Linked DNA regions of Homo sapiens: region 2 is linked to region 1. The links are contacts of gene promoters, found by promoter capture Hi-C in blood cells and fetal thymus (Javierre and others, 2016). All regions are on one chromosome and are shown on one strand. Each heading gives the region's core, a stretch centred on a gene start or on the middle of the fragment in contact. The rest is flanking DNA. Distances are from core to core; before and after follow the strand shown. Region 1 holds the start of LRRC26 (leucine rich repeat containing 26). Region 2 holds the start of ENTPD8 (ectonucleoside triphosphate diphosphohydrolase 8).

What was found. The method cuts DNA at HindIII sites, captures the fragments that hold promoters and counts their contacts. A CHiCAGO score of 5 or more calls a contact.
Region 2: the fragment with the promoter of ENTPD8 here is called in contact with the fragment with the promoter of LRRC26 in region 1 in 5 of 17 cell types (endothelial precursors, non-activated CD4 T cells, naive B cells and 2 more); the score reaches 7.1 in endothelial precursors.

What each region holds. Positions count from the first base shown.
Region 1 is chr9:137,166,101-137,173,127 of GRCh38, forward strand. It overlaps LRRC26 (leucine rich repeat containing 26), which reads right to left and starts at 3,951. Exons shown (of 2, transcript NM_001013653.3): 1 at 3,171-3,951; 2 at 2,658-3,085. The coding sequence starts at 3,843. The coding sequence ends at 2,754. It overlaps TMEM210 (transmembrane protein 210), which reads right to left and starts at 5,956. Exons shown (of 4, transcript NM_001282477.2): 1 at 5,840-5,956; 2 at 5,541-5,676; 3 at 5,314-5,343; 4 at 4,758-5,064. The coding sequence starts at 5,927. The coding sequence ends at 4,875. It overlaps MIR3621 (microRNA 3621), which reads right to left and starts at 3,170; the gene lies at 3,086-3,170. It overlaps GRIN1 (glutamate ionotropic receptor NMDA type subunit 1), which reads left to right. Exons shown (of 20, transcript NM_007327.4): 20 at 1,311-2,656. The coding sequence ends at 1,427. It also overlaps LOC124902315. RefSeq lists an enhancer at 1,590-2,454 and silencers at 2,224-2,343, 2,574-2,683, 2,924-3,443, 3,604-3,663. The HindIII fragment of the contact is 2,046 bases long and covers 2,723-4,768 here.
Region 2 is chr9:137,437,597-137,442,606 of GRCh38, forward strand. ENTPD8 (ectonucleoside triphosphate diphosphohydrolase 8) reads right to left here and starts at 3,761. Exons shown (of 10, transcript NM_001033113.2): 1 at 3,690-3,761; 2 at 564-709; 3 at 371-488. The coding sequence starts at 689. RefSeq lists a silencer at 3,621-3,915. The HindIII fragment of the contact is 13,084 bases long and covers 1-4,582 here.

The DNA of each region.
Region 1 (7,027 bases), core at 2,701-5,200:
GGCCTGCAGAGCCCAGGACGACACTGAGGTTCCCAGACAGGGAGGCCTCTGGAAGGGAAACGACCACCTCAGCTCCTGACCCCAGCAACCCCACAAGGCCCACCCCAAAGAGCCAGGCCTTCTGCCCTTTGGAGCCCAGAATCCCCCACCTCCTGCTCGGGGCAGCTTGTCCCTGTAGCGGATATGCACACTCGGACCAGAGGCCCCCAGAGCGAACCCAGCCTTGCTAGAGGCACCCCAGGCCCAGGCACCATGGTGGGGAGGGGCTGCCCAGAGAGGCAGCGGAGACCTCAGCCCCGTGGCCACCCTGCAGTCCAGGGACCAGTCTGGCCCACAGGAAGCCCCCAGCCCATAAGCAGCATCACCAGAGAGAAGCTTACGCCCGGGGGAGGAAGTGCGATTTGCAGCCACCTGCCCCTCAGTGCACTGGAAGCGGGGCAGACCTCCAGGGCACAGACAGGACTTGGCATCAAGCAAGCCAAATCCCGAGATGAAGCCACCAGGGTGCCCCAAGAGGGACCCATGAGGCCTGGCTGCTCAGCTTCCTGGGGAAGGGACTTGGCATGCAGGATGGGTGGACAGTGAGAGCCTGTAGGCCTGGGGGCCACTGGAGGCTCAAGGAGCAGGTGGAAGCACCATTCCTGGAGCCACCTCTGCTGCGGAAAGCGGGCAGAGCTGATGCTGCAAAGTCTGAGCCAGGAGTCCCGCAGGGAACAGGGAGGGGGAATAGCGCAGGGATCGTGGGCTGGGCAGGCTGGGGAAGAGGGGGTGTCCAGGCAGACAGGAGAAACAGCGATTTGGGGCAGGCAGCCACGGGGGGCAAGCACAAATGTCGTGCAGGTGATGGGCCACTTTCAGAGGGTGACACTGGGTCCCAGGGCCCTGCCTGGAGCGAGGCCAGGTGCAGCTCAGAGACCCTCATGGTGCCCTCCCAGGGACATGTTCCCAGCGGAACCCTCACCCGAGCCTCTCTGGGCACCAGGGACCGTCCTCTGGGGCCAGTTCTGGCATCACGTGGCATCTGGGGCTGGCCCCGCCCTGCAAGGCTGAACTGTGGGGGGCACTGCCAGCTGGGGGTCTGGGCAGGGGAGGGCAGCCCAGCTCCCACCTGGTCTCTGGGGCTGCGAGCTTATTCAGAGGGAGGCGTGGGTGGGGGGCTCCTTTGGGTAGGGTGGGGTCAGTCCGGCTGCGGAGATCCCCTGCCCCTGTCCTGTGGCCGGTCCGGGCCAGGGCGGCACTGGGCGCTGAGGGCTGGGGTCCCTGGCGGCCGGCGGGGCCAGCGGGTATTGATTGTTGGTTCTTATTTATAGAGCACCGGGGGTGGACGCGGCGCTTTGCAAAACCAAAAAGACACAGTGCTGCCGCGACGCGCTATTGAGAGGGAGGAGGGCCAGCTGCAGCTGTGTTCCCGTCATAGGGAGAGCTGAGACTCCCCGCCCGCCCTCCTCTGCCCCCTCCCCCGCAGACAGACAGACAGACGGACGGGACAGCGGCCCGGCCCACGCAGAGCCCCGGAGCACCACGGGGTCGGGGGAGGAGCACCCCCAGCCTCCCCCAGGCTGCGCCTGCCCGCCCGCCGGTTGGCCGGCTGGCCGGTCCACCCCGTCCCGGCCCCGCGCGTGCCCCCAGCGTGGGGCTAACGGGCGCCTTGTCTGTGTATTTCTATTTTGCAGCAGTACCATCCCACTGATATCACGGGCCCGCTCAACCTCTCAGATCCCTCGGTCAGCACCGTGGTGTGAGGCCCCCGGAGGCGCCCACCTGCCCAGTTAGCCCGGCCAAGGACACTGATGGGTCCTGCTGCTCGGGAAGGCCTGAGGGAAGCCCACCCGCCCCAGAGACTGCCCACCCTGGGCCTCCCGTCCGTCCGCCCGCCCACCCCGCTGCCTGGCGGGCAGCCCCTGCTGGACCAAGGTGCGGACCGGAGCGGCTGAGGACGGGGCAGAGCTGAGTCGGCTGGGCAGGGCCGCAGGGCGCTCCGGCAGAGGCAGGGCCCTGGGGTCTCTGAGCAGTGGGGAGCGGGGGCTAACTGGCCCCAGGCGGAGGGGCTTGGAGCAGAGACGGCAGCCCCATCCTTCCCGCAGCACCAGCCTGAGCCACAGTGGGGCCCATGGCCCCAGCTGGCTGGGTCGCCCCTCCTCGGGCGCCTGCGCTCCTCTGCAGCCTGAGCTCCACCCTCCCCTCTTCTTGCGGCACCGCCCACCCACACCCCGTCTGCCCCTTGACCCCACACGCCGGGGCTGGCCCTGCCCTCCCCCACGGCCGTCCCTGACTTCCCAGCTGGCAGCGCCTCCCGCCGCCTCGGGCCGCCTCCTCCAGACTCGAGAGGGCTGAGCCCCTCCTCTCCTCGTCCGGCCTGCAGCCCAGAACGGGCCTCCCCGGGGGTCCCCGGACGCTGGCTCGGGACTGTCTTCAACCCTGCCCTGCACCTTGGGCACGGGAGAGCGCCACCCGCCCGCCCCCGCCCTCGCTCCGGGTGCGTGACCGGCCCGCCACCTTGTACAGAACCAGCACTCCCAGGGCCCGAGCGCGTGCCTTCCCCGTGCGGCCCGTGCGCAGCCGCGCTCTGCCCCTCCGTCCCCAGGGTGCAGGCGCGCACCGCCCAACCCCCACCTCCCGGTGTATGCAGTGGTGATGCCTAAAGGAATGTCACGCAGTTTTCGGTCTGTGTCGCTTGTTGACGCCGGCAGACAGTGTAAAGGGAGGGCAAAGGCATGGGGGAAGCTTCGAGCGCTCCAGGCGGCCGCGGCCGCTCAGGCTTGGGCGGCAGCGGCGGGGCTCCCCGGGTCCGCGGGCGAGGCACAGCCGTGGGGGTCGGGATCGGGGTTCGGGTCTGGCGGTCTCGGCGGGCGGAGGGCGGCGGTGCGGAGGCGGCGGCGGCGCGCACGGCAGGCGGTGAGCCCAGAGCCCAGCGCCAGGCAGGAAGCCAGGCTGACGAGGAAGGAGGCCGGCCCGAGCGTGTAAACCACGGCCAGGTCCCGCAGGGCGAGCGGCTGCGCGCAATGGCTAAAGGCGGCGTCGGAAAAGGCAGTCAGGGGGCTGAGCGTCAGGCGTCCCGGCCACACGCAGAGCACCGTCTCGGCCTCTGTGGGACACAGACAAAGGCGCGGCGTCAGGTGGCGGCTGCCGCACCGCCCTGCAGACCCCGACCCGCGTCCCCAGCAGCTCACCTGACGCGGGCAGCGGGTGCCGGCGCAGCCAGGCGCAGAGCGGGCGCAGCGCGCACCCGCAGCCCCAAGGGTTGCCGCGCAGGTGCAGCGCGTCTAGAGCGGGCAGGCGGCCCAGCAGCCCCGGCGCGAGTGCCGCCAGCTCGTTGTCCTGCAGGCTGAGTGAGCGCAGCAGCGGGAGCGCGCCTAGCGCCGCGGGCTCCAGGCGCGCCAGCCGGTTGCCGGCCAATGAGAGGTTGCGCAGCGCGCGCAGCGGCGCGAAAGTCCCTGGTGCCAGTGCTTCCAGCTGGTTGGCGCTCAGGTCCAGCAGCTGCAGCGCGCCCAGGCCCCAGAAGGCTCGCACATGCACCGAGTGCAGCCCGTTCTCGCGCAGGTCCAGGCGCTGTAGCGCGCCCGCTCCCGCGAAGGCACCTGGCGGCAGCGCACGGACGCGGTTGTGGTCCAGCAGCAGCGCGCGCAGGCGCAGGCTCAGGCCCGGGGGCACGGCGGGCAGCGAGAGTGCCGAGCAGCTGGCCAGGCCTCCCGGCACGCACGTGCACACCTCGGGGCAGTCCGGGGCGCCCAGGGACCCCGAGGGCGAGGCCGTGGCCGACACCTGGGCCCAGACAGGCCAAGGCGACAGCAGCAGCAACAGCAGCAGCAGCGGCCGAGGCCGCGACCAGGAAGGGCCCCGCATGGGGGCAGCCCCCCCGCCCCCGGCACCCGCGGTGGGAGGCCCGCTGCCTGTGCGTCCCTGGAGCCCGTCGTCCGCGGAGCCCGTTCCTGCGGCGCCTGCACAAATATTAACTCTCTGGCCCGAGCTCAGGCAGTTCCTGTCCCACGGCTGGATCCACGCTTGGGGCGGGGGCAGGGCAAACAGCCAACGCCCGGCACCGCCAGCCACCTGTCCGGGAGCTCCAAACTACTCTTGGCTCAGCGCCGGCCACAGCGCTATCAAGACCACCTCACCCCGCCTTGTCCACCACCGGGCGCCCGCCGAGCCCTGACCTGAGCAGCAGGACACCGCCCACCTGCACCCGCCCAGCTCACGGCTGCAACAGGCGCCCACACGCAATGCAACCCAGAGGTCCTGCTCCTCACCCGTCTCGACCCCACCCAGGCTCCGCAAAGTGATCCCAACGTGCACATGCGGAGTGGCCCCCACGCAGGGATGGTCCCATTCCCATGCTGGATAGGGCCTGGGTTGGAGACAGGCCTTGGGGTGGAGGGAGACAGCACACCCGAGGCAGGAGAGGCGTGCCTGCCCCACCCCTCCCCCCCAGGACTCTCCTGGGATAGAGGTACAGACCAGTGCAGTGGGGCAGGGGTATCAGCCCAAGTCCTGCTGTTAAACCCAGCGCCCTTCACAGTTGCCAGTTGCAGGTCCTGTTCTAGGGGCTTTCCAAAGCTGGGTGCAGGAAGGAGCCGGGCTGACCAGCTGTGGCAGAGAAGGTGGAAACATTAGGGGTATGGCTTACTGCCAGGGGGCAGAGGAACAGGGGAACTTGCTGTGGGGCCTGGGCACTCTGCTTTGATGAGACCCATATGCGCGTGCACCCCCCATGATGCAGCCGTGAGGGGTGTGAGGGCCTGCAGGGAGGACGGTGCACAACCACTAAACAAGCTTTAATTCCCCTCCCCCAGCTGCCCTCAGGAGGGCCTGCAGGGAGGACAGTGCACAGCCACTAAATACGCTTTAATTCCCCTCCCCCAGCTGCCCTCAGCCCTCTACTCAGGTGGTAGGGGCGGGGGTGGTGGCGGCTCCTCTGAAGAAGCCTCCATGGGGATGGCCACAAGGCTCTGATCCTCTAGTGGTGGCACCAGGGAGACCTCCAGGTCAGCGTCCATTAGCTGGGACTCCACGTAAACCGGGTGCAGGTCCATGAGATCTTCCTGGACCCCAAAATTCTCCACCAACCTGCATGACGGGCCGGGTCATCACGAGCTGGTAGAGTCCTTGTTCCCCCAGGACAGGCTGGCGTCTGGGACAGTGCACCCCCACAAAGGGCCTCCCTTGGGACAGCACACCTCCTCTTCCAGGGACAGCACCCCTCCTCCTCCAGGGACAGCACCCCTCCTCCTCCAGGGACTCCCCTGGGATAGCTCCCCCCGCCAAGGGCCTCCCCTGAGACAGCGTGCCTCCCTCGAGGGCCTCCCTGGTGCTCACCTGTTGTCCACTTGTCTCGGGCATGTTTCACTGAGGGGACGAAGGCCAACATGAGTCCTGGAACAGTGCTGGGCCCCCGGAGCTCCCCCAGCACACGCCTAGGAAACGCCATTCCTACCCCAGGTGACAGCCCACCCAGGGGGTAAAGCCCTTCTTGCAAGACCAAGGGCCCAGGGCAGCCAGCCTGGCCTCACTCCCATCCTCTCCCGGCCCCAGGGTTCACGCACCCCTTGGCCCGCAAGACACCAATTGCCACGATGACGAGGGCACAGAAGCAGCTGGCACTGATGCCCGCCAGCACCACAAGGAGGGCGATGAGGGCCTCGCGGCTGAGGCCAAGGCTGCATTCACAGTAGGTTCCAGCTGCAGAGACAGGGCCACATGGCCATGGGCCGGTCACCTGCCTGCAGAGGGCCCCCAAGTCTGCCCCTGCCCTGGTAGCCACCAGAAGGACACCAGAGCTCCCACCTTGCCTGGGGAAGGGGAGCCATGGCTGGGAGTGGAGTGCGGGGGCAGGAGGAGGCACCTGCAGCAGGGATGAGCAGAAGGGACAAATATGTGAGGCCCAAGGGGCCACCACGCAGGCAGGACACAGGCCAGGGACCGGGGGCCATGTCCAGCCCTGGCCCCACTGCACACCTCTGACGGAACTGTTGGAAGGTGCTGACTTCACAGTAGGACTGTGAGGTGGGGGTGGGGGGGCTCACAATGCCAGTGTGTCATTTGCCCTTGGGCACCGCAATTCAAGGAGCCATGGCCAAGCAGCTCTGGGAATGGGACAGGTAGGGTGGGCAGAGGCCTGAGAGCCCAGCCAGCTCAGGCCAGCTCTGAGGCAGAGGCAGCAGTGGGGCTGGCCTGGTCTTACGGGCAGTCCTTCAGTGGTTTCACCGTGTTAGCCAGGATGGTCTCGATCTCCTGACCTTGTGATCCGCTCGCCTCGGCCTCTCAAAGTGCTGGGATTACAGGTGTGAGCCACTGCGCCCAGCCAAATCCTTCACAGTGAAAGGGGGTGGGCAGCACTCCAGGCCCCGATGTGGGTGCGGTGGCCTGGCAACCTTGCAGGGTGGGCGGCAGGCAGCCTCGGCCTCAGCTCCCTCCCAGCATAAGGGCTGCGGCAGCTCAGCATGTGGGCTGGGCTCCAGCTGGCTGTAGGTCACCTTCCTCCAGGGCTGGGGCAGGAAGGGGCCAAGGAGGGCTAAGGGGGTGGGCTTGCACCCATCCTCCCTCCCCACTGCTTCTGGGAGGGTCTGGCTCACGCCCTGGCAAAGCTCAGGTCAGAAGGGCTGCCGGCACCCAAGGGAATCCCCCATCAACTTGGAAAGGTCTGGGGGACACTGGCCACCCCTGTCTGAGCAGGACCCCAAGCCCTGCCTCCCAGACATCCCCCAAGGCTCCAGACTAAAGGTGTCACTGAAGTTGGAGCCCCCAGGAGCTTTCCCCTCTGCAGAAAAGACAAGCGTTGCCCAAGGAAGTCGACCGCAGGCCGGCATGGCCAGGGTTGCTTTCAGCCTCCTCCCTGCACCTGCTATTCCAGGCTGGGAGAGAGGCCCCTGCCCTCCCAGCCTCCCCTCCTCTGGACCTGCCAAGCAAACCGCCAGGCAGCAAAAGGAAACACCTGCCCCACAGCCAACGGAGGCCAGGCCTTCTGCCAGCTCAGGACACATGGGACACGGGGGGTGGGGGGGGTGGGCACAGTCTGGCCCCAGTGGCCCTG
Region 2 (5,010 bases), core at 2,511-5,010, 270 kb after region 1:
ATTCGGGGCCTCCTGTTTTCCCCTCTCAGGATCCTGGAGTGCAGGCACCCCTGTAACTACCAGCCTCGGCTGCCAGCACCACGTGGTGCCAGGGTGGGGAGCACCAGGGGCCAGAGAGGGTCAGGGCTGGAGGCAGCAGATGCTGGGCAGACCCAGGCCAGGCCATGAGAATCTGACTGCTCACCAGGATCAGGCAGGGAGGTCCCCAGAGTGCCACCGCGTGAACGCAGGCTCCGGCCCAGCACCCATGCCCGGCGTGTGAGCTCAGCCAAGTCACTGAACCTCTCCAAACCCTTTCCGTGCAGCTGGGAATCCCAGCCAGGCAGCAACAGGCAGGTCCCAGCACCGGGCTGCAGAACAGCCCACTAACCTTCCACCTGGCAGGCCAGGGCCTGGCTGACCACACCCGTGCCATTCTCCTTGTTCGCCAGCCACTGATACAGGAAGAGGGACGTGTGGGAGGAGCCCGCATCAAACACGATCCCAAACTGGGGAGACAGTGGGATGAGTGGGAGGCAACACCTGTGGACCCGGCCCGGCCTCCCCTGCCGGCGGGGACGCACCTTGATGTCTGTGGGCAGGAGCACGCTGGTGGCCTCCACCAGGAGGAGAATGAGTGCCGTGAGGCCTGAGACCCCCGAGGCCCCCAGCAGGGCCAAGAAGACCTGCTCCTTCCGGGACAGCCCCATGGTGCAGGTGGTACTGGTTCCTGTGGGGGGACGGCCGTGGGCACCCAGGCTGCACTTGGTGTCCCCATCCCGCCCTCCAGAGGCAGAGGCTTCGCTCCCCGTCTCCCTGGAGACGCACCCCTGGACAGCCACTTGCCTTAGAGGCATCTCCGGGGCTCAGACGCCTCCCGTGGCCATAGAGGCATCCCCGGGGCTCAGACGGTCTCCCGTGGCCTTAGAGGCATCTCCGGGGCTCAGGCGGCCTCCCGTGGCCATAGAGGCATCTCCGGGGCTCAGACGGCCTCCCGTGGCCATAGAGGCATCCCCGGGGCTCAGACGGCCTCCCGTGGCCATAGAGGCATCCCCGGGGCTCAGACGGTCTCCCGTGGCCATAGAGGCATCCCCGGGGCTCAGACGCCTCCCGTGGCCAAGGACCACTCCCCAGGAGCCACGCCTGCCAGGGGTGCCATGGGCATCAGAGGGCCCTGTGGGAGGGGGGCGGGGGGCAGCAGAGGCCTCGTCTGGGGACACAGCCCCAGCAGGATCCAAGTAGCCCCCTCGGACCCCCTCGGATGGGACTCGCGGAGCTGCCCCCACCATGTGATGGGGCCACCCTGTGTCCCCACCCCTCGGTCCTGCCTCTCCCGTGCCACCCTCCCCAGGAGCAGCCACAGCTCCAGCCTGCACTGGGGGCCCAGGGCTCTGCCTCCTCTCTGCGGCCCCCACCCCAGGCACTCCTAGGGTGGGGGTTTCTCTCTGGAGCCCTGAGGGGACTGTTGCCGAGGGGCTGTGGGTGAACCCAGGGTGAGGCCAGCCATCCTAGGAAGCCGAGTGTGAGGCTTCTTAACAACATCGGTTTCTCTGGAAATCCAGCCCAAGGCTTCCCTAATCTGACTCTGCACCTTCTTAGCTGGTGCCAGATGGCGCCTGGTCGGGAGGTGGACCCAGGGATGCCATCTGAGGGGCCTGGGCTTCTCTAGCCCTGTGGCCGAGGTGTCCACCTCCTCCTCTGCCCAAACGCCCAGCAAGGGTCTCAGCTCTCAAACTACCCCAGGCCGACCCTGTGCCCCATACAGCCCCACTTCACACGGGTACCACTGCCAAAGGAGTGGTCAAAGCCAGAGGCTGCCTGCCAAGGTCCCGGCACCTGAACCCCATGTGACCGTGTCCTATCGTGTTCCCCCGGGAAACGTTGCACCCACACTGAGTGGCAGGCGCGGGTGCTGCCCTGGTCCTGACCTGGGGCTCCTGGGCACGTGGAAAGTGGGACACGCTGTGGGGTCCTCACGCAATTCTGTATGTCCGGGGGATATAAGCCCATTTTAAGGAGGGTAGATGACAGAGGCTCAGAGAGGACAGGAGGCCGGTCCAGCCCAGACAGGGCCCAGCCTGTGTCCCCAACCAGCACCCAGGCCATAGGCCACCTCATAGGGACAAACAGGTGACAGGGGCCAGGAACACAGGGACTCCACACCCAGAAGATGTAGCCACCTGAGACCCCCAGGCCTGAGCCTCCAGGTAGGCAAAGAGGTTGGGGCAACCTCTCCCACACTCAAAAGACCCCCAAGACCAGAACAGCCTCCCAGATCAGAACAGCTCCTCAGACCAGGAAAGCGCCCCCCAGACCAGAACAGCCCCCCCGAGACCAGGACAGTGCCCCCAGACCAGGAGAGCCCCCCAGACCAGGACACCCCCTCAGACAGAACAGTCCCCCAGACCAGGACAGCCCCCCAGACCAGGACAGCCCCCCCCAGACCAGGAGAGCCCCCCAGACCAGGACACCCCCTCAGACAGAACAGTCCCCCAGACCAGGACAGCCCCCCCAGACCAGGACAGCCCCCCAGACCAGGACAGCCCCCCCAGACCAGGACAGCCCCCCCAGACCAGGAGAGTCCCCCAGGCCAGGACATCCCCTCACACAGAACAGTCCCTGAGACCAGGACAGCCCCCCCAGACCAGGACACCCCCTCACACAGAACAGACTCCCAGATCAGGACAGCCCCCCAGACCAGGACAGCCCCCCAGACCAGGACAGCCCCCGCCAGACCAGGACAGCCCCCCCCAGACCAGGAGAGCCCCCCAGACCAGGACACCCCCTCACACAGAACAGATTCCCAGACCAGGACAGCCCCCAGACCAGGACAGCCCCCCCCAGACCAGGACAGCCCCCCAGACCAGGACAGCCCCCCCCCAGACCAGGAGAGCCCCCCAGGCCAGGACACCCCCTCAGACAGAACAGTCCCCCAGACCAGGACAGCCCCCCAGACCAGGACAGCCCCCCCCAGACCAGGAGAGCCCCCCAGACCAGGACACCCCCTCAGACAGAACAGTCCCCCAGACCAGGACAGCCCCCCCAGACCAGGACAGCCCCCCAGACCAGGACAGCCCCCCCAGACCAGGACAGCCCCCCAGACCAGGACAGCCCCCCCCAGACCAGGACAGCCCCCCCAGACCAGGACAGCCCCCCAGACCAGGACAGCCCCCCCAGACCAGGACACCCCCTCAGACAGAACAGTCCCCCAGACCAGGACAGCCCCCCCAGACCAGGACAGCCCCCCAGACCAGGACAGCCCCCCCAGACCAGGACAGCCCCCCAGACCAGGACAGCCCCCCCCAGACCAGGACAGCCCCCCAGACCAGGACAGCCCCCCAGACCAGGACAGCCCCCCCAGACCAGGACACCCCCTCAGACAGAACAGTCCCCCAGACCAGGACAGCCCCCCCAGACCAGGACAGCCCCCCAGACCAGGACAGCCCCCCCAGACCAGGACAGCCCCCCAGACCAGGACAGCCCCCCAGACCAGGACAGCCCCCCAGACCAGGACAGCCCCCCCAGACCAGGACACCCCCTCAGACAGAACAGTCCCCCAGACCAGGACAGCCCCCCCAGACCAGGACAGCCCCCCAGACCAGGACAGCCCCCCCAGACCAGGACAGCCCCCCAGACCAGGACAGCCCCCCAGACCAGGACAGCCCCCCAGACCAGGACAGCCCCCCCAGGACATCCCTTTGGACCCTCACCTGGGCTGGCTGCCCACTTCCCGGAGCGGCAAGGAGGAAGCTGTGCTTAGACGCTTCTGTGTCCGCGCACCTGGCGTCCAGCCTCTCCCTGCCCCTGGGTCCAGGACAGCTGGGGTGGGCGGGGCAGGGCGGTGACAGCCTCGGGCGATGCGCTGTGCACCTGGCTCCAGGGCCCGCAGGCTGAGGCCAGCGCCCAAGGTCGCCCCGCCCACTCCACCCTCGGGTCCCCCGCCCAGGGTCTCCCCGCATCTCCCACCCGCGGGTCTGTCTCGGTGCCCAGGGTCGCCCCGCCCCCGGGGGGGTGGGAGGCAGGAGAGGGAAGCTGAGGAGGAGCCTGGAGCTGCGAGGGGCAGAACTCCGGGACCCCGCCCCCCACGGCCCGCAGCCGCGCTCCTGACCCCGGCCCGGACTTTACCCCCCGTGCCGCCCGGCCCGGGCAGGTCGGAGTCAGGTGACCCCGAAGGTCCAGGCCCGGGGCGGGGGCGGAAGCGCCTGCAGCCCCGCGGCGCCCGTCGTTTTCCATTTGCAGCCACTCTGCCTTTCCCGCTCGCCGTGGGTCCCGGGGCCGCCGCCGTCGGGGTCCGGGCCTCTGAAGCGGGGCGGGGCTGGGGGAGGCGCGGAGCCAGGGCCGGGCTGGGTGGGGCTGGGGGTGTTGGGGGGCGGGGAATAGGGTGGGGGAATGCGGGGGGGCGGTGAATTCCTTTCTGTGTGAGATCCAAGAACCCTCTTGGGGTCTCAATCGGGACTCTCTTTACTGGTAGCATATTTGGTGTCATGTGTGTGCATTTTTGTGCTTTTTCTTGGTGATTTCACTGTTTATAATGGCGTCTCAGCATAGTGCAGAAATGCAAGAAGGCTGAGATGCACTTTACAGAGAAAACACACATTGGATAAGCTTCATTCGTGCAAGAGTTAGCGCTGTTGGCCATGAGTTCAATGTTAGTGATACAATACATATTAAGTAAGGTGCCCTTAAACAAAAATACACATAAAAGAAGGTTTTATTAATATATTGATCATTTAACAAAAATGTGACCAGAAGCTTGCAGGAACAGAACTTTGCATTTCCCTTAGGAGCAATAGTTTAGCATATTCTTTAATTCAGTGTTTGCAGCAACTTTATACACTAGCTGCCATGGGTCATAAGAGTCAAATGTGTTTGTTGAGGATTTTTGCAGTTGTGTTCAACAAAGTTGCATAGTTTTCTTTTTTAGTCCTGGTTTCTGTATGGGGATAATGCTGGGCTTATAAAATGAGTCTGGGAAGTTGTCCTTTTTTTTTTTTTTTTTTGAGATGGAGTCTCGCTCTGTCACCCAGGCTA